4 separate regions of the Homo sapiens genome follow, and all the other regions are linked to region 4. The links are contacts of gene promoters, found by promoter capture Hi-C in human tissues and cell types (Jung and others, 2019). All regions are on one chromosome and are shown on one strand. The core of a region is centred on a gene start or on the middle of the fragment in contact, and the rest is flanking DNA. Distances in the headings are between cores, read along the strand shown. Region 1 overlaps LNX1 (ligand of numb-protein X 1). Region 2 overlaps LNX1 (ligand of numb-protein X 1). Region 3 overlaps LNX1-AS2 (LNX1 antisense RNA 2). Region 4 holds the start of SCFD2 (sec1 family domain containing 2).

Region 1 (5,764 bases), core at 1,019-3,518, 180 kb after region 4:
CCATTAGCAACTGAATCAACTTCAGCAAATGGCTCTCTAAAACTACACTGACTTGGCAAGATCATGTCAAAAAAAAGAGGTTGGGCTGAAAAAAATTATTTCTCTAAGGAAAAGTGTGAACAATTAGTGCCAAACTATTCACATAGTGGAAAGTTCCATGCTTTTGGAAGATGACACACTTGGTAGTTTCTAAGACTGATCTAATCAGCACATTTCATATATATTTTTTTTCTAAAAGAGACTTAGAGTTCATGATTCTTTTAGTGTAGATTCTAACCATTTATATCAAATGGAAAAAGCAGGGATCTATTCAGTTGTGTGTCAAATTCTTAGGATCACTGAATAGTTCTGACTTGAGACAAGAACAATATAAGGCCAAGAAAACGGACTGTTTCAATTAAGCTCAGCAGAAAAAAATACACATGAGCCAAAACAGAACGACTTAATACTTAGCAATCACTTAAAAATTTGTAAGCTCAGTCTGAGTCATTAAAAAAAAGTAGGCCAAGAAGCTTGAAGGAACACAGATTTACAAGTAAAAGAGGCAAACACTAAAATAAAAATGTTTAAACCCTGCAGTGCTAAACTACTTTCAGATAGCTTTGTAATAAGTGAAATTTGGAGAATTATATAAACCCCTCACAGATAAGCTTGGACAAAAAATAGGTGAAGGAATATTTGGCAAACATGAGCATGCATAAATCAGCTGCTCCAGATGACACATGGCCCTGGGGAATAGAATTTGACTAATATGCTTACTGAACAATGGTGCAGTAAAAATGAATAATTATTTCTGAAAAATTACCTTGCACTCAGGGGGATGTCAGAAGACTGGAACAAGGCCAACAACATGTGATAGTGATGCAGAGAGAAAACAGAAGGAAAGGGTAGTGAAAAATTAGTGTATGAGATATGCAATTGTCAGCTTGAAAAATTGGGAATAACTATTAGGAAAGTAAAATTGAGTTTCCAGAAAACCAGGGATAAATAAACAAAGGACAGTTTGCATTTAAATGATCACAGACAAATTCATGAGATTATCTTAAAGATTGTAATACTGTTGTTGTAATTAAGAATACAAAGGGATGGGGTAGGGGGTGGATTGAGCTGAATGCGCAGTGTCTTGGGATTTTATATTCACTGTTAGTCCAAAGAAAGCTGAAAATGATCAGAAATCACAAACTAAGGGGGCATTAAGCCCAGCCATGGGAAGGTGTTTCAAAGAGTGTCCTAACAATCACCATCACATTGATCTGAATCAATACTCTGACTGATGACCTAGGAGCAAGTGTCACAAAATTTATGGATGACACTGAGGTGGGGAATGCCATAGAGGACAGAGGCAAGAGGAGGGAAAAAATAGGTTAGACATGGGTACATCTGCAATTAGAGAAAATCCATGACAAAGACATGAACAGACTGGAGTAATTTAGAAGGCAACACAATTTCGGAATGAGAAAATTCAACATTAATTTACACTGAGTAAGAATAGGGGTCAAGGTGGAGAAGGCCATTGGCATTTGCAATTGCATTTAAATCTGTATTCGGAACACGTGACCCAGAGTGATGTTTAACCCGGTAAGAACCCCCCTCTCCCATCAGGAATAAATCAGGGGGAAAGCAAGTGGAAGTAGAGGGAACTGATGGTCATGAGCCCACCCAGGTGCCAGCTCCTCTAACGTGGTTCTCACTTGCTACTCAGGAATCCTGTGCTGTAGGAATCATTAGCACTTCATAGGTGTGGATTTGGAGTCAGATTGTCCTGTCTGCTACTTTTGTTTTTAAATAGAGATGAGGGTCTCACTATGTTGCTCAGGCTTGTCTCAAACTCCTGAGCTCAAACAATTCTCCTGCCTCAGCCTCCCGAAGTGTTATAATTACAGAAACGAGCCACCACGTCTGTCCTGTGTGCTACTGTTATCCGAAGGTCAGTTGCCCTCATGGCTGGCTCCCTTCCTCACTTCTTTCTGGGTTCTGCTGCTTTCTTGGCAAGGCCTGCTTATGTAGAACAGCATCTCCTTACCTGCTTTATTTATTTCATGCCACTTATTTCCATCTGATGTACTACATGTGTGCTTATTTACTGCCCTCTCACTGGAATATAAGTTTACTGCAGAATCCCCACAGCCTAGAACATGCCTGATATGTCATACACATTTGATAAGTATTTGTTATTAAATTATACTCTTCCCAGGAATGAATGTTTTCTTTATGCTACCTAAGTGTAAACTCTTAATTCATCTACCAGGAGGCTACCTAGCTTGGAAAAGAAGAAAAAAAAATCACACTATACAAAGAAAACGCTGAACAGAGAACTTCCAAGAAGTAGGAAATATCTTGCTCAATTTTTTTTTTCAGAACATTAATTTACTTTCACTGGACAAGGAAAATCTGTTTCTGTAAACCACTATTTTTATTAATAGAAATTCCCTGCCTTTGCTAAATGGTAAACAAATGTTAAGAATTTGAAGGAGGATCACATCACTGGGCTCCTTTGAGATCCATATGCCTCAATTCAACCCTGTCAACCATGCCAAGAAAGAAGAGAGCAGCTTATGTCCAAAGAAACTGGGAAAGAAAAAACAAATCTCCATGATGCTTTCTTTAGATGACACTAAGCAACTGAATGGGGGATTAAAAAACAAAAACAAACAAAAAAACAAAACAATAAAAACACCACCACAGTAAACAAACAGAAAAAACCAAACACACATTGACCTCATCTCTGGGTCTTTTGTAACTGAAGAAACAACACCTGAGTTACATGGAACAAACACTTTATCTTAGTCTTCTTCACCTTCACTGTCCTATTTTTGAACCCTAGACACCACACCTGCCTAGCTGTCATTGGGCTTTTAAATTCTCTGAAATAGACTATCTAGGTGTTTGAGAGCAGTACATAGAAATTAGTAAGCACCTGAGAGGTGCTGATTTCTCTCTCTCTCTCTCTTTTTTTTTTGAGACAGTCTCACTCTGTTGCCCAGGCTGGAGTGCAGTGGTGCCATCTCAGCTCACTGCAGCCTCTGCCTTCCAGGTCAGGCAATATTCGTGCCTCAGCCTCCTGAGTAGCTGGGACTACAGGCGCATGCCACCATGCCTGGCTAATTTTCTGCATTTTTAGTAAAGACAGGGTTTCACTGTGTTGGCCAGGCTAGTCTCAAACTACTGAACTCAGGTGATCCACCCCTTCGGCCTCCCAAAGTGCTGGGATTACAGATGTGAGCCACCATGTCCGGCCTGAGAGGTGCTGATTTCTTTTGTGATGTTAAAGGAATTAGTTTCCTGATGAGGTTGAGCTGCTATCTGAGTAGAACCCAAGGAGGCCAAAAGGTGGGTACTTCAGGGAAGACCCTGGAGTGGTAAGACACCAGCACTGCTGCCCAGTACCATGCGAGAATCTTTTCTAAAGAAAAAAGTGTGCAGGGGGCGAAGAAAGGAAGCTGGCTTGTACAGTAGCAGAGATGGACACGTAAGTAGCTGACACTGATCAATAATGCCCATGCGCCAGGCACTGTACTGGGGCTGCATGTGCATGATATAGTCTGTCAGTCCTCACAGTAGCTCCATGAGGTTGATGCAATGACATCATAACAGAGAAGTTAAGGCAATTGCCCAAAGACACACAGCCAGCAATTGGCAGGGCCAGGCTCTAACTCTGGAGTCCCGCTTGTGATCATAATGCACTCGACCAGCACGTCCCCAGTGACACCTCAGACCTATGTAGAGTTTGCATTGCACGAAGGTGGAGGGAGTGGTACCCAGATGCTTTTTTCTATTAAAAACTGCACCAGCATCTAAGAGGGAAGGATTATTCCAGATGAGTTTGCAATAAGATCCCTTTGATCCTTTGTAATCTTTCATCAATTAGCTCATGCAGCCAAAAATATTTCTGACTAATCACTTTAAAGAATGACTTTGAGAACTCCTGTAGTCTGCTCTCTTATGCCTACTTCAATGGGAAAATAGTTATACAAACTAGGAACTGCCATCTTCAGCATAATTTTAACTGGCCAGAGAAACTACCCAATCATTACCCAGAAAAGTTGAATCTATAAAGCAATTACTTTTCTGTTTCAGAATCCATCTCAGCCCCCCAACCTGGCCCTACTGAATTATAAAGGTGTGAAACAACCTAACACATCCAAGCAAATCCATCTCCATGACAACACAGTAGCGATGCAGTCCTGGAATCAGGATGCCTGCATTCCAGGCTGGCTGGATTACCTAGGGAAGTTTCCTCAGCCTCAATAAATCAGAGTTTTCTCATCAGTGAGATGGGGAGCCATTGCATTTGCTGCAAGGTTCCTAGGAGATCATTTATTTCTCATCACCATTAATTTCTCATCTCTGATGTTTATAGTGCACTTAAAATGTTCCAGGCATCTAATGCTTCCTGTGTATTGCATTTAATTCTTACCCCCATGAGGTAGGTGCCATCATTAAAACCTGATTTAAGGATGAGAGGCTTGAAGCTTAGCTGAAGTTACACAGCTAGTCAGTGATGAGCCAGGATTTGTACTCAGATTTGAATGACTTCAGAGGCCACATTTTTTTTTTTTTTTTTTTTTTTGAGACAGGGTCTTACTCTGTCGCCCAGGCTGGAGTACAATGGTGCTATCTCAGCTCACTACAACCTCTGCCTCGCAGGTTCAAGCAATTCTCCCGCCTCAACCTCCTGAGTAGCTGGTAGTACAGTGCACCTCACCATGCCCAGATAATTTTTGTATTTTTAGTAAAGACAGGGTTTCACCATGTTGGCCAGGCTGGTCTCAAACTCCTGACCTCAAGTGATCCACCCACCTCAGCCTCCCAAAGTACTGAGATTACAGGCATGAGCCACTGCACTGGGCCAGAGGCCACATTTTTAATCAATACAAGCTAAAGCTTGTTAATGTTTCATGACTGAACTCTGCCCTGCCTCTCTGCTGCCATCCTTTGTATATGAAACTCTTAGAATTAGATAAAAATCCCTGGAAGAGCATATTCAGACATAAAGCCTTATTGCTGTCAAATGGACCCAGGCTGCACGTGTTCAAAATTGGTCGAGGAAATCCCATGTTACCATTCTGAGCAGGCCCAGGTGGTCAGACTCCATCAGAGGATGCTGCATTCATGATGGGTGCTGTGCAGGGTCACTTGCCACACTGTGTCACCTCTATGTCATTGCTTTGCCTAGAGCTGGTAGTTTAAAATTTTAACCACTAGCTCCAATTTTATTGCTTCCTCAGGACACATATCATAAAACGATGAATGCTTTACTCTTATTTCCAAAAAAATGTCATAACTTGTTCAAGGTCACATAGCTTGTTACTGGCAGGGCTGAGTCATTTGGGTAAATTATTAGGCCTTAGTTTCTTCATCTATAAAATAGGGGGATTAGACTAAATCATCTCCAAGCTCTCCTTCGGCTCTCAAAAATTTATGGTTCTGGGCCACAGACACCACCAGCCAAGCAACAAGCTGGATTCAGTCTTCCTCTTCAAACTGGGGAAGGAGGAAAATAGGAAAGAGGAGCTGCAGTGTGAGGGCAGCAAGGAGCTAAATAGCTGAGGAATGAAGGCTGGGGAGGGAGTCGGGGGCAGAGTCAAGAGACTGGCAGATGTGGTAAAGACCGAGCCACTTGTGGAGGCAGAGCTGTGTGGAAGGCGAGGCCTCAGCCACTGACAAGTAGCTCAGGCCTCTCTCCATGGAATTTCCCCTAAGCTAGTTACCCCTTTCTCAGCTCAAGTCAGCCATTTCCCTGCCTCTTCAGTGAGAGGGAGGA
Region 2 (5,852 bases), core at 2,958-5,457, 130 kb after region 4:
GTTTCCCCTTTTGCTTGACCCTCATTCTCTCTTGCCTGCTGCCATGTAAGACTGGCCTTTCACCTTCTGCCATGATTGTGAGGCCTCCCGAGCCATGTGGAACTGTGGATCCATTAAACCTCTTCTTTTTAAATTACCCAGCCTTGGGTATGTCTTTATCAGCAGCAAGAGAATGGACTAACACATGGGCTATTAAGGAAATGTTCTTTTGTCTTGTGTCTCCTTAGGATGACCCTTGCTGACTTGTACACTGGAGAACTCCAGCTCATTCCTCAAGCCCCAAGTTCAAGATCTTCCTCCTCTGAGGAATTCACAGGCCTAGTCAAGCAAAAATCTCCCCTGCGCCTGCATCAGCATCATACTTAATTTTTTCCATTGCAGCAGTGTTAGACTGCATGGGCAGTCATTTAGATAAAGTCCAGCTTTCCTGCCACACTGGAGGATCCTTTGGAAGAATAATCTAAGTGGTCCTCCCTCCAATTTCTGCATCTAACCCAGGGGTACATAAGCAGCAGAACTTAACAGATATTTGCTGGATGAAGTGAATGAATGGGTTAGAACATAAGAGCCCAGAACAAAGTCTATTCTTCCAAGAATAAAGCTCACAGCTTATGAAACGTCGCTGAGACACAAAACTATCAGAACATTATACCGGGTGAAAAAAGCCAGTCCCCCAAGTCCGTATATGATTTCATTTATATAACATTCTTGAAATTCAAAATTATAGAAATAGAAAACAGATTAGTTATTTCCAAGGGTTAAGGAGGACGTGGGGCGGGGAGGGAAATGGATGTGGCAATAGAAGGCAACTTTTATAGGGATCTTTGTGGTGATGGAAATCTTCTGTTATGACTGTTAATGTCAATAGCATGCTTGTGATGCCATACTATGGTTTTGCAAGATGTTAACACTAGGAAAAACAGTAACGAGACATGGGATCTCTCTGTATTATTTCTTACAATTACATATTAATTGATAATTATCTCAAAATACGAAGGTGAGTTACAATTGCATACTAATTGATAATTATCTTAAAATAAAAAAGCTAAAGAAAAAAAAATTTCAACAGTGACCCTGACGAAGTCAACAAAATACATACAGGTGCTTGATGACATTATACTGGTCAGAAAAGTGGATTAGTTTGAACAGTCATGAACTCTACTTGCCTGAGTGATCAAGAATTTGCGTCCCTCTCTTCTTAGGGGGCTTCCTCTCAGGTTCATACTTGGGTTTCCAAGTGCTTTCGAAGTCACCTGGACTTAGCCATGGAGACTAAGACTTACTCTGTCCATAGGATCCCTGGAGAATGCATGGCATAGCTTTTTTTTTTTTTAAGATGGGTCTTGCTCTATTGCTCAGGCTAGAGTGCAGTGGCACGATCTCAGCTCACTGCAACCTCCGCCTCCCAGTTTCAAGTGATTCTCCTGCCTCAGCCTCTTGAGTAGCTAGGATTACAGGCACCTGCCACCACACCTGGCTAATTTTTTGTATTTTTAGTAGAGATGGGGTTTCACCCTGTTGGCCAGGCTGGCCTTGAACTCCTGACCTCATGTGATACACCTGCCTCGGCCTCCCAAAGTGCTGGGATTACAGGCATGGGCCACCACGCCCAGCCGAGTAATGTTCTTACCTGGGCAGAAGCTTTGAAAATGTTGGTCTTTCCATCCTGACTCCTTGAAAGGGAGGCACTGCATGACACATGTGGTAGTGACAGGGTGCCTGGTTCAGGGGGATGTGCATTCTTGCTCATGTCCGGGGTTTCTGACTGGGATCCTGGAATGACCTCTGACTCACCTGAATCAGATGAGCCGCACTTTCTGGGCTGCCATATCGAAGATCATGTCCATTGATGGCTAACACACGGTCATTCTCCTCAAGCTGACCATGTCGATATGCCACACCGCCATCCAGCACATTGAAGATGAAAACCCCAGGCTCATCCACCTTGCGCACCAGTTTTATTCCAAGCTGCTCCTCGGGGCTACTTTTGTTGAGAATCACATGAAAGCTGTCATCTCGGGGTCTGTAGGCATCCGGGGCCTGTCCATTGTTCCTGCTGCGGAACTTCTGTTCACGCATCACAGTCAGCCACAGCACCTGGCAGGGCTGCCGCAGGAGACGCACAGCGTAGTTGTGAGGGACATTGCTGATGTCCATCCCGTTGACCTGGGGGCAGGTGGAACAATCGTGCGGTCAGCTCCACCTGCCACAACCCTTCCTGAAAGATCCAGGCCCACAGAAAAGCCAGGATCCTGTCTTTAAAGACTGCTCTGCTCTCCCACCTCATCCTGTGTCCAATAACCGCACCTTCCAACAGCGTTTCTAACCCTGTTCTCTCCAAGCGTGGCCTGCAGCACCTCTCCAGGCCTCTGTGAGTAGACACCATCTTTCTCCACCTTGTTCTTACCCAAGCCCACATATTTATTCCCAGAATCCTAGCCTTCATTTCTGTTGTCATTATTTTTTAGCTGGCAGGAAGAGAGGGAAGGAAGATAAGGTAGGAAAAGGCAAAAGAAAAGCATTTTTCCCATTTGCCTCAGTCAAATGATTGCATTAAACAGCTCTTCAAGCCGAGTTGACATTTTCTTCCCAAAAATCTCCAATTGAATTTTTCTCCCTGGGTCAACTCATACCAGAACTTCCAGTCCTCACCACTGTGTGTGTATGTAGATGTGATAGTGTGTGAGTGAGGGTCTGAGTGTGTGAGCACGATGGAGTGTATGTGCGTGTGATACTGTGTGTGTGCGGATGGGAATGTGTCAGGTCTCAGGGTGGTCCCCTGCAAGGTTTTTTTGCCCATGTTCTCAGCAAAAGGAAGAAATCCTTGCACAGTTTCAGACAAACTGATATGAAAGGAAGTTTCCAGGCTCTTTTATTGAAAGGCTAGATCTCTTTATAAAGCTACTTAAACAAGCTTAAGCTCGGCCCTCTCATTTGTGCCTCACTAATGATGTGTAGGGCTGATACTGCATGGGGCTTTCTGGTTTTAATTTCTCTGGCTACACAGGCCCAGCCAGAGCCCCCTATGTTGGAAGAAAACAATTTCGCAGCAATTGCTGCACTCTGTGTTTGAGGAAAGAGGCCCCATGGAGGAGAAATAACTTTCTTGAATTTCTGTAGTTTGATAAGATTTCTTGTATTTGCAGCCAATTGTTAGAGAAGGCTTGGAATGGGCTTTACAAAGGCCTTTCTTGAGGATATAATCACCTGTTCTCTGGTGCAGCTCCAGAGGCTCCCTCATGCAAAGGCAAAGCTCACCACCTTTGTCCAAGCACAGGTGAGGAGAGCACCTGAGGTGGCAGGGCCGGGTTCCCCCATCACCTCTGGGCCCAGAGAAGGTCAGGGGAGTCAGGGTTGCCTGCTAAATAGTCCTGGCAGCCCTTTTGTTTGTAAGCTCCAGTTGAAGGCCACAAGAATCAAAATGTTTTGTTATGCAACCCTGCCAGGCAGCATAGTTTCCACTAGAACTGGGAGGCAGCAGTGCACAGTGTAGCTGATTGTACTGCGGCCTGCCCCGAGGGCCCTGTCTTATGCTCCACCTCGGAGGCCAGCAGGAATTTCAGTATTTCTGTGAAAACTGCTTTAGGTTATTTCTCCTCTTATTCCAATCAGTTTGCCAAAGAAACAGCTCATAATGTGACAGGAGCCGGTCCCTCAGCAACCTAGAAGGGATGGGATAGAACTGTTATCTGAGTGTCAGATAGAAAATATACGAGCAGGGAGGGGTTTCTTGGCACTTTTGGCAAACATTGGACTTCTGCCTGGTAAACAGATCTTTTTATCCTTTCTGTTCTGAAAATTCCTCCTTCTCCTTAACCAAGCCTCTGAGGACAGTAACACCCAAAGCATTCTATTCCAACACCTGTCTCCCCTGGTATGTCTCTGGGTTGGTGGAATTAGCATAGAGATTACTTTTATTTTCAGGGAGGGCCGTAAGACTATAGGAAATTGACTTTCAAAAAGTAGATGATTGTGATTAAATAAAATACAAAATGTTCTATTAATCTACTCTAAAAACAATTTAAGAAAATATATGTCCCAGTTTTATTTTATATTAATGCTCTTTAAAAAAAGAGATAAAAGGAGAAAGAGGAGGTGGAGAAAGGGAATGAAGAGGAAGATTGAAAAAGCTAGAAGGGAGAAGGCAGAAGAGTGGACAGACAAAATGATATAGAGACAGATAAATATTTATATACAGAGAGAAAGGGGGGAGAGAGTGAAAGAGCAAGACAGAGAGAAACAAAGATCTCAATTAAATGACAAATCTCAGAGAGTCATAAAATGATAGAAAGTCACTATCCACATTTATTTTACCATTTCCCTCATTCATCCATCCATCTATCCAATTGTTTGCTCAGAAGCATTTTTTTATATCAAGCCCCTTGCTGCAGCCCCACAGCCACAGTCTCTACCTTTAGAATGATGTCTCCTGGCAGTAGCCGGCCGTCTCTGGCGATCACCCCATCACGATAAATGTGTTGGATAATGATATGGACCAGTGGGGTTTCGCTACCTCCCACCAGCCTAATAGAGAGGCTTTCACTGGGATCTACTCGATTGATCTTGATGCTGGTAATTTCACCATCTGGAATCAGGTGGTACAACCTTGGAAAGACTGAAATGGACAAAGAGTGTTTATTTAAGACACCCACCCAATGGACCTTTCCAACTACTCTTCTTGCCAAACTTCAGTGTCAGCCAAACTAAACTATTCATTTTTCCTCATACATGTTTTCCATTTTCCTGCCTCTGTGTCAATGTAAGTTTCTCTGCTTGGAATGTTTTTCATCCTGAGCTTAAACCCAATTTTTCCTTCAAGGCCCTTCCAATTAAACTCTACCCTGATTCCTCCTTCCCTTGCTCTAAACAGCCCACTTCCTATAAAGCTTTCTAGCTATTTCTCATGGCACTCAACCCATTATTGTTATTTTTACCTTTTTGTTTTTGTTTCTGTTTTTTGAGACAGGGTCTTACTCTGTTGCCCAGGCTGGAATGCAGTGTCTCACTACAACCTCCGCCTCCTGAGCTCAAGTGATCTTCCCACCTCAGCCTCCCAAGTAGCTAAGACTACAGGCACATGCCACCATTCCTGGCAAATTTTTACATTTTTTGTGGAGACGGAGTTTTGTCATGTTGTCCAGGCTGGTCTTGAAATCCTGAGCCCAGGTGATCCACCCACCTCGGCCTCCCAAAGTGCTGGGATTACAGGTGTGAGTCACCTCTCCCAGCTTATACTCATTTCTTATATACCTCATATCATGCCCATAAAACCTGAGGGCATAAACTCTCGCTGTTCCATGGTTCTCTGCATATATCTCTGCATGCAGAGGCCTTCAGCTGAAGTTTACTGAATTAATAGAAGTGAATGAATCATTTTTAATGGAATGAATTGCAGTTTTATCGCTTGCTTATTGAGAGGTAAAAAACAGAACCAATTTGCCACTTTGCCCTCTCAGATAATTTTGAAAATTTCTTCCTTAAAGACTCTGCTTTTCAGGCTTGGGGGAACATCAGTTCTTTCTACCAGACATTGTTGTTAACAAATGGAAGAGGCCTGATTCATGATCAAGAAGAGGCCAAGGCCTAGTTGGTGGCCTTGAGCAGTTCATCCCTGGTTTGCCTGAAATCACTGAGTTCAGAGCAAGGAGATTCAAAGATCATCTAGGCTGGTGTTTTCAAACTGTATTTTTAAACTGATGAATCTGCTTTCCCCAAGAAATCTCTCCTAGCTCTCTTCTCATCTTTCATCCCATTGTGACCACACAGAAAACAGCTGCTCTAATTGTCCTGCTGCTTGACAGTGATAGTCAAACACTACAAGTGAGGAGGTTTAAGGCTGAGAGAAGGGGAGT
Region 3 (5,696 bases), core at 519-3,018, 240 kb after region 4:
CCTTTTTAAAAAGGCCCCTCTCCCCAATACCATATGCTTTTTAAGTGTTGTATTATTTAAATCCCTGTTAATTCTATTTTTATATAGTCAGTGCTCAGTGGATAGGAGCAAATTACTATTTTCCTCACATCAATCCTCCACGCACTTGCTGTTTTTTATGCTGTCCAATAGAGTACTCTGTCCTCTAAGAGCCCAAATTCTTCAAACTTTTTCCCAAAGGGGTTGAAAATTCATAATAACTAGTAACATAAAGTGACTCGAGGACACATGCACACAAAAAAAAGTCCTAGTAGGGAATGGAGTGGGAAAGGCAAAAGCCAGAGGAGAATTGTTTTGCTGGCCTACTCAGGTACGAGAAGCACAGGAGAAGCCAACTTTCTAGGTGGGAAAGTGTTTTCCTTCCCAGGAACTTTTGCTTCCAAGAAAGGGCAGGCCCTCAAAAACACAGATTATGGCCAAGGAGCTCATCCCTTTATTTATCTTAAATTAAAGAATACAAGAAAGAGAATATCATGAAAACCACTCACTATTACCAGAGAGAAGGACTCTCAGTCAGATTCCGACTAACAGGGTCTCAATATAATAATAGGGGAAGTTCATTTGACTTTTCTCAAATCACGAGCATGTGAAGACACCCCTTTTTAACTTGGACATGAACCTGGATGGACGGCCTCTGTTTTTTTATTTTTATTTTTATTTTTATTTTTTCAATTTTTGAGACAGAGTCTCGCTCTGTTGCCAAGGCTGGAGTGCAGTGGTGCAATCTTGGCTCACTGCAACCTCCAGCTCCTGGGTTCAAGCGATTTTCCTGCCTCAGCCTCCTGAGTAGCTGGGATTACAGGTGCCCACCACCACACCTGGCTAATGAAACCCCATCTCTACTAAAAATACAAAATTTAGCCAGGCGTGGCAGTGGGCGCCTGTAATCCCAGCTACTCAGGAGGCTGAAGCAGGAGAATCACTTGAACCCGGGAGGCCGAGGTTGCAGTGAGCCAAGATGGCACCACTGCACTCCAGCCTGGGGGACAGAGGAAGATTCTGCAAGAAAGAAAGAAAGAAAGGGAGGGAGGGAGGGGGGGAGGGAAGGAAAATATCTGAGAAGAGGCTTGCATTTTGTATTTAAATATATTCCACTCAGTTTTATGAATATGGAGGTTTAGGAGTTAGGAGAAGTGTTATTAACTAGACCGGGGATCCCTAAGTTCCTTGTTTGTGATGTCTTAATTTGAGTCTTTGTCCATATCAGTGCCAGCCATCAGCCCAGGGTGGCCAGACTGGTCCTTCCAGTTGTGGCTGTCCCCCTGAAGTGGCATGGTCCACCCCTCTCCCACTTTCGCTGAGTCTGCCCAGGGGGTGGACAGGAAATGCAGCTTTGACAAGTTCTGCCATGGGTATGCTCGCACCCCCACATTGGGTGACTCTCACTAAGTGTCTTGCCACGATGGCCAGTCCTTCTAAGTGATTAGGCTGCACCTGGACCAACACTGTTCGCGTTCTGGCCACCTGCCCATAAACTCGCAGCAGCTGTGACAACTGCGTGAGCCTGGTAGCAAGCCCATTGTCCCCTGGGATGCTAACTCCTCAATGCCATGTGGCTGCGGGGGTTTGGCAGAAGAGACAGCAGCTGTGCTAGGTATGTCCCCTCCTCATCTGTGCCCCCTAGAGGCAGCTGCACACACCAACTCATCTGAATTCGAAGCTAGGAGATCTATGAGGCTCCAGCTCTACTTTCAACTCATCTCAAGATGGCATCTTCTCCAGGATAAAGGAATAAGGAACCACATGCCAGGGGTCACTGCAGGTCACTCTGAAGCTGCCAGTCATCTCAAAGTCAAACTCTCCAAACTGGTTACTGCTGTTTCTCCCTGCCCTGCATCCCCTCTTCTGCATACCACCCCATTCTGTAGAATCTATACCACCAACCCTCCTCACCCCTGCTCACGTGACTGACTTCTCCAGTCAGCACCATTGTCCTCCCCTGGAAATGATCCCATGAAATTTCATAAAACATCAAAAATGGCTTCTTGTCAGTTAGCCTTATGGTTCTACTGGTGTGATAGAAATAGGGACAGAGTGAGAAATAGAAACTAGGATCTGTCTGTGCAGAAACCCAAGGTAGTGAAAATGAAGTTACTCTCCGAAGTGATAAGGGGATGGATCCAAATCTGTGACCTTGACATCACCATCTATTCTAGGTCCTGCAAGCAACAGATGCCAAGACGAAATTAAATATGCAGGGACTTGATTAGGGAAAATACCTGTGTGAGCAACAGGGGATGGAGGCTGAGAAAGGCTGGGAGAGCTGTCAGACCACCATCCGATCTGACACCAGTGAAGGAGAGGAGGGAAGGTTAGGTGGAACTGTACCTGGGCCAACATCAGCTGTCAGAGTAATCCCAACTTTCAGGAACAAGCCTGTCTTAGGGTCCTGCAGCACTCAGTCACTCTGACACTGACCAGGAGCTGCACCTTGAAGGGTGGCTTGCTGCAAATGCAGGGGTGGCTTTTAGAGTGCAGCCACTTGAGTCCTTTGTCAGTGACACCTCCTATAATGGGCGGTCTGTGAGGGCACTTGAATGGCCTTTACACGTGGTGACTAAACTAATGAAGTAGCTGAGGAGATGGGGAGTGGAGTCCACAGGACCCAAGTCAAGGGAAGGCAATCAGGATATTGTTTCAAGGAATGAAAAACACGTGTTGGGTGATAGTTCACAAGGCTTCAGTCTGATCACCTGGATTGGGCTCAGTGTGAAGGAAACAGAAAGTCTGTACATCCATGACATATCATTTTACTCTATTTTAAAACAAGCCAAATATACCTGAAAGCATAGAAATTTCAAAGCCTTGAAAAAATTCTTCTGTTTTCAAGTTTGCCTTAGCACTGACAGTAGATGTGAAGCTCTGAGACCACTTTTGAAGCTAGAAAAGGCAAGGACAAAAGTACAGAGACAGTGAGTTTCATGGACATCTTATGACCTTTCTGGGCCTCAGTTCCTTCATCCCTAAAAAGATCCCTTTCAAGTCTAAAATTCTAAAATCAATGCTCAGATTGGCAAAGTTTCTAATAATCAGGGAAAGCAGTTTTCCAGGATCCAGAGCACCACAGTGTCACTGTATTAAGGCAGCAAATAAATCAGCCCTGGTTGTGCTGGCCGTGGGGCCATGGAGGACTCCAGGGTGGTTGCAGGGCTTCCTTGGGAGCCGACTCCTCACTGCATGTGAGGACCTACTCATTTTCATATTCATGGTTCCTAGCTCATGGGGAAACTCAATAACATCTTCATTAAATAAACACACAAATGGACAAAATCAATTTGGGAAGAGAAAGAGAAAAGGATTGGGGTAAAAAGTGATGTGAATTAGCAGAGCTGGGTTATAGGCAGGGTGGATATGCAGCTGGTGTCCACCATGGAGCTTGTGTTAGGCCGTTCTTGCATTGGTATAAGGAAATATCTGTGACTGCTTAATTAATAAAAGAGGTTTAATTGCTTCATGATTCTGCAGGCTGTAAAGGATGATGCCCGGCATCTGCTCAGCTTCTGATGAGGCCTCAGGAAGCTTCCAATCATGGCAGAAGGCAAAGGGGAACCCATGTATCACATAGCAAGAGCAGGAGCAAGAGAGGCGCGGGGAGAGGTTTTAAACCACGTCTTGCAAGAACTCACTATTGCGAGGACAGTACCTTGGGGATGGTGCTAAATCATTCATGAGAAATCTGCCCCCATGATCTAATCACCTCCCACCAGGCCCCAACTCCGACACTGGAGATTACATTTCAACATGAGATTTGGGTGGGGACAAATATCCAGACTATATCGGGGCTGTACCAGCAATTGACTCCTGACATCTGTTCTGACTGGTCAGAGTCTGTTCTGATAGGTTGGTGCCTCTACTGATTATTAAATATTTTATGCTATACCAATTATTAAATATTTTGAAAACCACCTACTGTTACATGGGCTATCATATTGCCTAGAATATTTGGTGATGGTTTCATAAATGGAAAGCAATTGATTTCTGATAGTCATTCCACCGCAACCTAAGGTCACCATATCTATTAATAATTCCTGTAGATGGTAGTGGGATGGAGGGTGATTTAATCAAATTGATGACAATTTGAAGTTGCCAAACTGCTGATTTTTGTTCTACCCTTCGTAGAAGACAATTTGTATTACTCTTTCCCTGCTGCCCCACTAGAAATATATTAGCACCTAAAGCTTGTATATTCATTTATCACAAGCATAATATGTTCTCCTTAAGCTGGATAGAGAATGTTTGAGTTAAAAATGAACTGAGACCAAAGAGAAGTGACCTGTTATTCAAGTCCTTATACTCACAAATGCTTGGGGCAAAGGGAATGTTTGGAGAAAAGTGATGAATTCTCTAGACTTAAAAGCCAGTTGGATAAAAAGCAGAACTGGCAGAGCCTATGCCAATGTGGGATTATGGATGCAGGAAGAAGCAAGAGGAAGTAGCCCAGGAACTTACAGAAATTATAATGAGGGCTCCGAATTCTTATGGGTTGTGGTACTGGCATTCAGGCCAGGTTTAACTAGATGTCCAAAGGCTGTGCAGGGGGATATCTGATATCTGGAATATTCTTAGGCTCAATTCGTTTGTTTCTTCATTTGTTTCTTGCAACCAAAAATGAATTATGAATATCAGTCCAAAGTCAGAGACAGACTAATTTGTTTCTCATATAATGAACTAGAAGGTATATTTCTAAGACTAAGGATTTGTGCTTGTGTTTGGATTGGAGCTGAGCCTCTTGGGTGGGGAAGACAGGTCACAGGCCACCTTTCTCAAGAAAAGAGGCTGCAGGGGCAGAAAACTGGAAACATGAAGCTGTATATGTATAGAATTCCAGGGCAAGTAAAATGTAAATGAGTGATGAAACAACATCACTCCTCACAACCCGGGTGATTTGCAAAGTCACCAGGGAATTTCAGGACACCTGGATTACAAAACCATAGCAAGACTTGGAGTCCGCATTAGCATAGTGAAGTGGAAGCTGCCAGCTCAGTTAAGGGCTATGCCTAGAACTGGCATAGCACCACTTCTCCCATGTTCTCGTGGTCAAAGGAGTTACAAGGCCCACCCAGATGAAAAGGGATGGAGAAATAGATTCTACCTCTGGATGGGGACTGGCAAAGTCACATTGAAGAGCATGTGGAATGGGAATTGTGTTGTATGGTAGCCATTTTGGAAAATACAATCTACTGCAACAGATGATTAAAATACTTAAAAAGAAATTTTAGTGTGTTATCGTCTTTAAACATTGTACAAATTTAAGGTGTATAATGTGATGTTTTGATGTATATTTTATTAAAGTGATTACTAGTCAAGCAAATTAACGTATGCATCATCTTACATGGTAACTACCTTGTGTATGCGTGTATGGGGGTGGGGGGTAAAGTACCTAAATATGTTCCCAGTAAATTTCCAGTATACAATACAATATTTGTAACTATAATCTGCATGCTGTACTTTAGATCTCTAGACTTATCCACTCTATATAACTACAACTTTGTATCCTTGGCCTACATAACCCTGTCCTCTCACCCCCACACCTGGTAACCATCATTATACTCTGTTTCTCTGTATTCATGTTTTTTTTAAAATTCCATATATAAGTGAAATCACGCAGTATTTTTCTTGTCTGACTTATTTTACCTAGCATAATGTCCTCTAGGTTC
Region 4 (5,787 bases), core at 324-2,823:
TACATTATTACAATTTGAGATTATTTACTTAATCTTTAATACAATGAGAGCTAAAAATAAATCAATAAACATTTGAAAATATTTTCTACAATTCTATTTCATCTCATTTACTAGTAACATTTAAGTTCAGCCTCACTTTTGAACACTCATTTCCTAAACCTCAATTGTCTGTAATAATTTTATGTTTTCTTGTGCAGTAGTTTTCCTTCCGCTGGGTCATCTATTAACACTTCTCCAACAAACCAGAGTCTTCTTATGAAGGACTGTTGTGAATACTGGCATTCGTAAATTTCTAAAAATAAAATTTCCCAGGTGCACAGTTTTCCTCCCTGTCAGCATAATCTTGGGCTAAAGTTGTTGTTTAACAAGGCAATGGGCATTTATGACATTTCTACCCATTACAGCATTTAACAAATGTTATTGTAATTGCTAATTCACCTGTCTGTATTCCACTTTAGACAATAAACTCTGTGAGATTAGAGACCGTGTCCATCTAGTTCATCTTTGTATCCTCAATCTAATATATAATAAAAGGTCAATAAAATATATGCTGAATCAATGAAAGTCCCAGCAATGTGGGGAATGGTAATGAAGAACTCCAGAGCAATGCACTTACCTGTGAGATCCAGGGTTCTGTCCACAAAAACCACTGATGCCCTGCCTGCAGCAGTCTTCTTCCTGTTCTTTGCAGGGGCATAATTGGCCAGATCCGCAGCGATGACCTGACTTAAGGAACCTACAGCAAAACACTCCTCCCGTACTCCTAAATGTTCACACAGAGAACTGAGGCCTGACACTAGGCATCTGATCTGCAGCAGCAGCTCTGGGGTTAGCGTAGTGGAGTCCACATCACCCAGGCTTCCCAGCTTCCTCTTGTCCGGTCGGGCGCTATTAAGGAGGTGCACATCCTGGGGTAGCAGTGGGAAAAGGGATGCAAAAGCTGGAGTCAAGGCAAAGTGGGGAGCAACAGGGGCAAGCAATAACGGGACATGGAACACCTCGGCCGTGTAGTTCATGTTGCCCATCCATTCACACAGCTTCTCCTCCAGCTGCTCGAACACCGGCTGCTGCCCCTCCATCTCGGCCGCTGCCGCCGCTGGGACATGATTAGCTGTGAGGTGGACAGCGTGGCTCACGGTTGTGACCACCACACAATACTGGAAGTGACTGCGGCAGATGATGTCCCGTAGGATCTCCACGGTCCGGCCTTTCAGCAGGCAGCTCAGCACAAACACTGCCTTGGGCTGCTTGGCTCCACCACCAATTGCGTCGGGCTCGAACTCTCGCAGGTGACAGTCAGGACCCCCCACCGCCTCCAGGAGACGGGTGGATCCGCAGCCCCAGTGCAGGCTCTCGGCGCAGGCGGCGTCCAGGTAAACCACAGCCCGTTTCACTTTGGCCAGCACCTGCTCCCATCCTTGCTGGGTAAAGGACAGTACGCCCGAGGCGCTCATGGTTGGGGATTCGCAGACTTGGGAAACTACGGTGCAGGAACTTCTTTCAGAACTCACCGCTTCCGGAAATTGGGCTCCGGGAGACTTTGACAGTCTCCACAGTACACGTGGTCGGCCTCTGACACGCTCCCTGATGGCGCTCGGTGATGACGTTAAACTGAGCGGTGATTGGCTAGAGAGGAGGCCGGGAGTGAGGAAGGATGGCGCGGTCGGGAAAGAAGTGGGTGGGGCTCTGTGGCTCCGGGCTTCCTCAAAAGCTCGTGGAGATCAGGTGTTTCCTGAGATGGAGCTGAACTGAGTTCTTTCCGTCGCTCGGCCTGTCTGCGCAGATAATCTTCTCAGATAATCTTCTCATGTTCCTTGAAAAGTCTCCGAAATAAAAACCTAATCCGAAATTTGGTATCTTCCTTAGATATGAACACGTCTCCAAAAGTACAGCCACCTTCTCAATCTAAACTCAGAGCAACTAGAAAAAGATAATAAAAACAACCGTGTGCAATATTTTGGGTTTATAGATTGCTGTCACATACGTTATCGCCCACAAGCCTCATAACAAACCCTGTTGTTCTCATTTTCACTTTCTCCATCTTTCCTCCCTCATCTCATCGTCACTACATCTTATAGGCTTAAAAACTCTCAGAATTCAGCCCTTCCTCTCCATTTTTGCTGTCACAAAAACCCAACATCATCGCTCACCCAGGCAATGATCTCCCAACATTTTCTGACTTTTGATCTCTTTACCCTCCAATTCTATTTTCTTCCTAATAAACAAAGTTGGTCCTACAACTTTCCTGCTTAAAAGCTTCTCCTAGCCCAGTTGCCTATAGGATACATCCACACTCTTTAAAAAGCATCAACATCCTTCTTGATTTCTCAATTTCTCTCCAGCTATTCCCAACATGGAGAAAAATTGTACCGATACAATGAAGTCAATAGGCTGAACCCAAAATGTTTTATGGGTTCTGTTTGTTCCACCAATATACTTACATTACTAAGTATAATCTCTGTGCTAAGCTTCAAAGATGCAATGGTTAATAAAATTCATTACCTAATCCACAAAGAATTTACCTGGTAAACTTACCGAAAATAATCATTCCAACAGTACTGCCTGTGAGAGACTTTTTCTAACTCACCACCACTATCACCCTATCACCTCTCACTTCCCCCACCTATCAAACCACTCAATTGATACATTCGCTAAGTACTTGCCATATCATGGGGTAAGTATTAACACTATTTTCTTTAAACTATCTGTTTTGCTAAATTATGCACTAGATGCTTGGTATCCCCAACACTTATAACAGGTGTTCAATAAATGTTCGTTGAATGAATGTTCAATTAATATCCATGGCCAGGCGCGGTGGCTCATGCCTGTAATCCCAACACTTTGGGAGGCCGAGGTGGGCAGATCACCTGAGGTCAGGGGCTCAAGACCAGCTTGGCCAACATGGTGAAGCTCCGTCTCTACTAAAAGTACAAAAAATAGCTGGACATGGTGGCAGGTACCTGTAATCCCAGCTACTCGGGAGGTTGAGGCAGGAGAATCACTTGAACCCAGGAGGGAGAGGTTGCAGTGAGCCAAGATGGCACCACTGCACTCCAGCCTGGGCGACAGAGCGAGACTCTGTCTCAAAAAAAAAAAAAATTCCACATAATAATATATCCAGCCAATTTTTAATAAATACGTACAGTATTCCAAACACTGTCTGGGTTTTAAGGATATAAAGAAAACTAAACCACAGCCCTGATTTCAAAATAATTATGATGAAATAAAGGGACCCACACATGTAAAACAAGTGCAATAAAATGTTACAGAAGCAAATACTTTTTAAAATTTTTTGTATAGGAGTCAAGAAGGAGGAAAAATAAATTCTAAGAGAAAAAGGAAGAAGTCAGAAAAAGCTTCATATAGGGCATGAGTTTTGACTTGCCTTCAAAGAAACCCAGGTGTTCACCAGGTGGACAGGATGGGGAGGAGGATTCTTAGCAGTCCAGGCACAGAGTGCAGCATAAACAAAGTCGTAGAGGCATAAAACAGTACAATATGTTCTCTGGAACTACAAAGGGTTTCCTATAGCTGGAGTGCATTGTATGAAAAAAGGCGCAAGAAGAAATAAGAGCAAGGAATTAGAAAAGAAAGAAATGGGCTAGATCAGCAAGAGCCTTATTTTCCATTCTAAGTAGTAGCAGCCAGTGGGGAAGTATTAATGTATTTTGGGGTATGGAAATAATTTGTTCACATCTGGATTTTAGAAAAAAAATGGTTCTAGTCAAAACATGGAAAATAATTTGAAATGGAGCAATTTAGCGCAGAGGGAGCAGTTAAGAAAATAATAGTATCAGCAGCAAATCTGGGTGAGAGAGTTGAAAAGCGTAACAAGCAGATGGACAGAGTGGGGAGTATGAATAGACGTTAAGAATATAGTGCCAAAGGGCTTGCTTATTAGTTTGACAGAGAGGGTGACACGGAAGGAGAATTTCAGGTTAGCACCCAGCTTTCTGTCTGGATGACTGATGAATGCCAGTCATTGAGATTTGAAAAACCATTAAGAGAAGCAGATTGCGGAATAAATACAGAGTTTAGTGGGGACATATTTTTGTTTGTTTGTTTCCTTATGGCAAGATAAGTGTAACATAAAAGTCACACCATCTTAACCATTGTAAAATGTACATTTTGGTGGCATTAAGTACATTCACATTGTTGTATAACCAATCTCTGAACTTCTTGTCTCACAAAACTGAAACCCTGTACCCATTAAACAACAACTCCCCATTCCCCCTCTCCACAGTCCTTGGTGACTTCCACTCTACTTTCTGTTTCTATGAGTTGACTACTCTAGTTGTTGGCAATGTAGTAGTTGACTACTCTAGATACCTCATATAAGTGGAACAATACAGTATTTGTTTTGTTGTGATTGACTTATTTCACTTAGCATAAAGTCCTCCAAGTTAATCTATATTGTAACGTGCATCAGAATTTTCTTTCTTTTTGAGGCTGAATAACATTCCATTGTATGTTACACCATTTTGTTTATCCATTCATCTGCCTATGGACATTTGGTCTGCTTCCACCTTTTAGCTATTGTGAATAATGGCACCTTGAATATGCAGCAGAAGAGTCATAAACCTGGTAGAACCTAGTAGGTAAAAGGGCCAATGACAGACCCAAGTTCAAATGTTGAACTAGTAAACAAGAAGATATTCCTACATGTTTGTATCCTTGTCAGCATGAAAATTATTTTAAGGAGCTTAAGTTGAATAAGTTGTTGGATGACAGCCCTTGCTCTTCCATTTAAACCCAGGTCAGTGCCTAGTTACTAACACCTGCATTAATCTTGATCTCAAGCTCACTTTTTGTTTCTACCCCTTGCATCTCATGCTGAATCATACATTCATTAGGTAAGTTTGAGTGAATTAATACTTCATCTTCTCTGAAAGGGCAAGGCACTCATGAAGTCATGGTTGAATATTGTGCCAGTAAGTGCTAGTGGTCGCCTCAATATTTATTTGTCTCTTCTTCTGTAGTAATAGGTTTATTCTGAACTCATAGACACACAGCTAAAGACTACTTTTCCAAGCCTCTTGCAGCTAGCTATGGACAAATGATGAGGCACGGGTGAATAAGATAGTTGGAAGTGACACATACAGATTTCAAATAATTCCCTAAAGGTGTATGGTTTTCTTTCCCTACAAATCCTACTTTCAGTTCTTTTGTACATGGACCCAGAGTGGAATTGCTGGATCATATGATAATTCTATTTTTAACTTCTTGATGGACCTCTGTTTTTGTTTTGTTTTTTACAGAGGCTGCAACATTTTATATTCCTACTAATAATGCACAGGGGTTCGGATTTCTCCACATCCTTGCCAACACTTGATATTTCCTGGGTTTTTTGATAATGGCCATCCTAATAGGTGTGGGGACATGAGGTTTTCAATATGCTTGTGGGACATCGAGGCAGAAACATCTAGCATGCTGTTGGATGTGTGATTCCAGAATACAGAAGAGAAATATGGTAATTGGGATTATTAGTAAATGGGTGTGCTTCAGAGTGCCTTAAGAGAACACAAAAAAGAAAGAAGACAATGATGGTGATGGAGAGAACTCTGAGCAACTTTTCTTGATGGGCAGAAGAAGTCAAGCCAGTGAATGGAGTAATGAGAGGTGCAAGTTTTAAGACTAGAGTGGCCAACAGTGGCAAGTGTCAGAAAAGGGAAAAGAGAGGGAATATGAGAAGAATCTACAGGATTTGACCTGTGCAGGAAGAAAGTACAGTCATGACAAGGGAGTGCTGGGGGTGCAGTGCAGAATGAGTCAATGGATTGGGGAAAA

The links. The method cuts DNA at HindIII sites, captures the fragments that hold promoters and counts their contacts. A contact is called where the count stands out against the background at its distance.
Region 1: a contact is called between a fragment that was not itself captured here and the fragment with the promoter of SCFD2 in region 4, in 2 of the 25 tissues and cell types used here (aorta and mesenchymal stem cells).
Region 2: a contact is called between a fragment that was not itself captured here and the fragment with the promoter of SCFD2 in region 4, in 2 of the 25 tissues and cell types used here (IMR-90 fibroblasts and hippocampus).
Region 3: a fragment that was not itself captured here is called in contact with the fragment with the promoter of SCFD2 in region 4 in 1 of the 25 tissues and cell types used here (IMR-90 fibroblasts).

What each region holds. Positions count from the first base shown.
Region 1 is chr4:53,541,256-53,547,019 of GRCh38, forward strand. The region is part of intron 2 of LNX1 (ligand of numb-protein X 1); the gene reads right to left. Among named protein-coding and RNA genes, the nearest start is that of LNX1-AS1, 44 kb to the left of the region's middle. The HindIII fragment of the contact is 4,819 bases long and covers 1-4,678 here.
Region 2 is chr4:53,494,229-53,500,080 of GRCh38, forward strand. It overlaps LNX1 (ligand of numb-protein X 1), which reads right to left. Exons shown (of 11, transcript NM_001126328.3): 5 at 4,413-4,615; 6 at 1,795-2,166. LNX1-AS1 (LNX1 antisense RNA 1) reads left to right here and starts at 5,849. Exons shown (of 4, transcript NR_046622.1): 1 at 5,849-5,852. The HindIII fragment of the contact is 3,860 bases long and covers 2,278-5,852 here.
Region 3 is chr4:53,600,033-53,605,728 of GRCh38, forward strand. LNX1-AS2 (LNX1 antisense RNA 2) reads left to right here. Exons shown (of 2, transcript NR_046827.1): 2 at 3,505-5,350. It also overlaps a transcript of LNX1 not described here. Among named protein-coding and RNA genes, the nearest start is that of LNX1-AS2, 9.9 kb to the left of the region's middle. RefSeq lists an enhancer at 1,486-1,985. The HindIII fragment of the contact is 4,237 bases long and covers 1-3,887 here.
Region 4 is chr4:53,364,488-53,370,274 of GRCh38, forward strand. It overlaps SCFD2 (sec1 family domain containing 2), which reads right to left and starts at 1,574. Exons shown (of 9, transcript NM_152540.4): 1 at 617-1,574. The coding sequence starts at 1,454. RefSeq lists enhancers at 1,000-1,049, 1,270-1,469, 1,490-1,539. The HindIII fragment of the contact is 11,346 bases long and covers 1-2,912 here.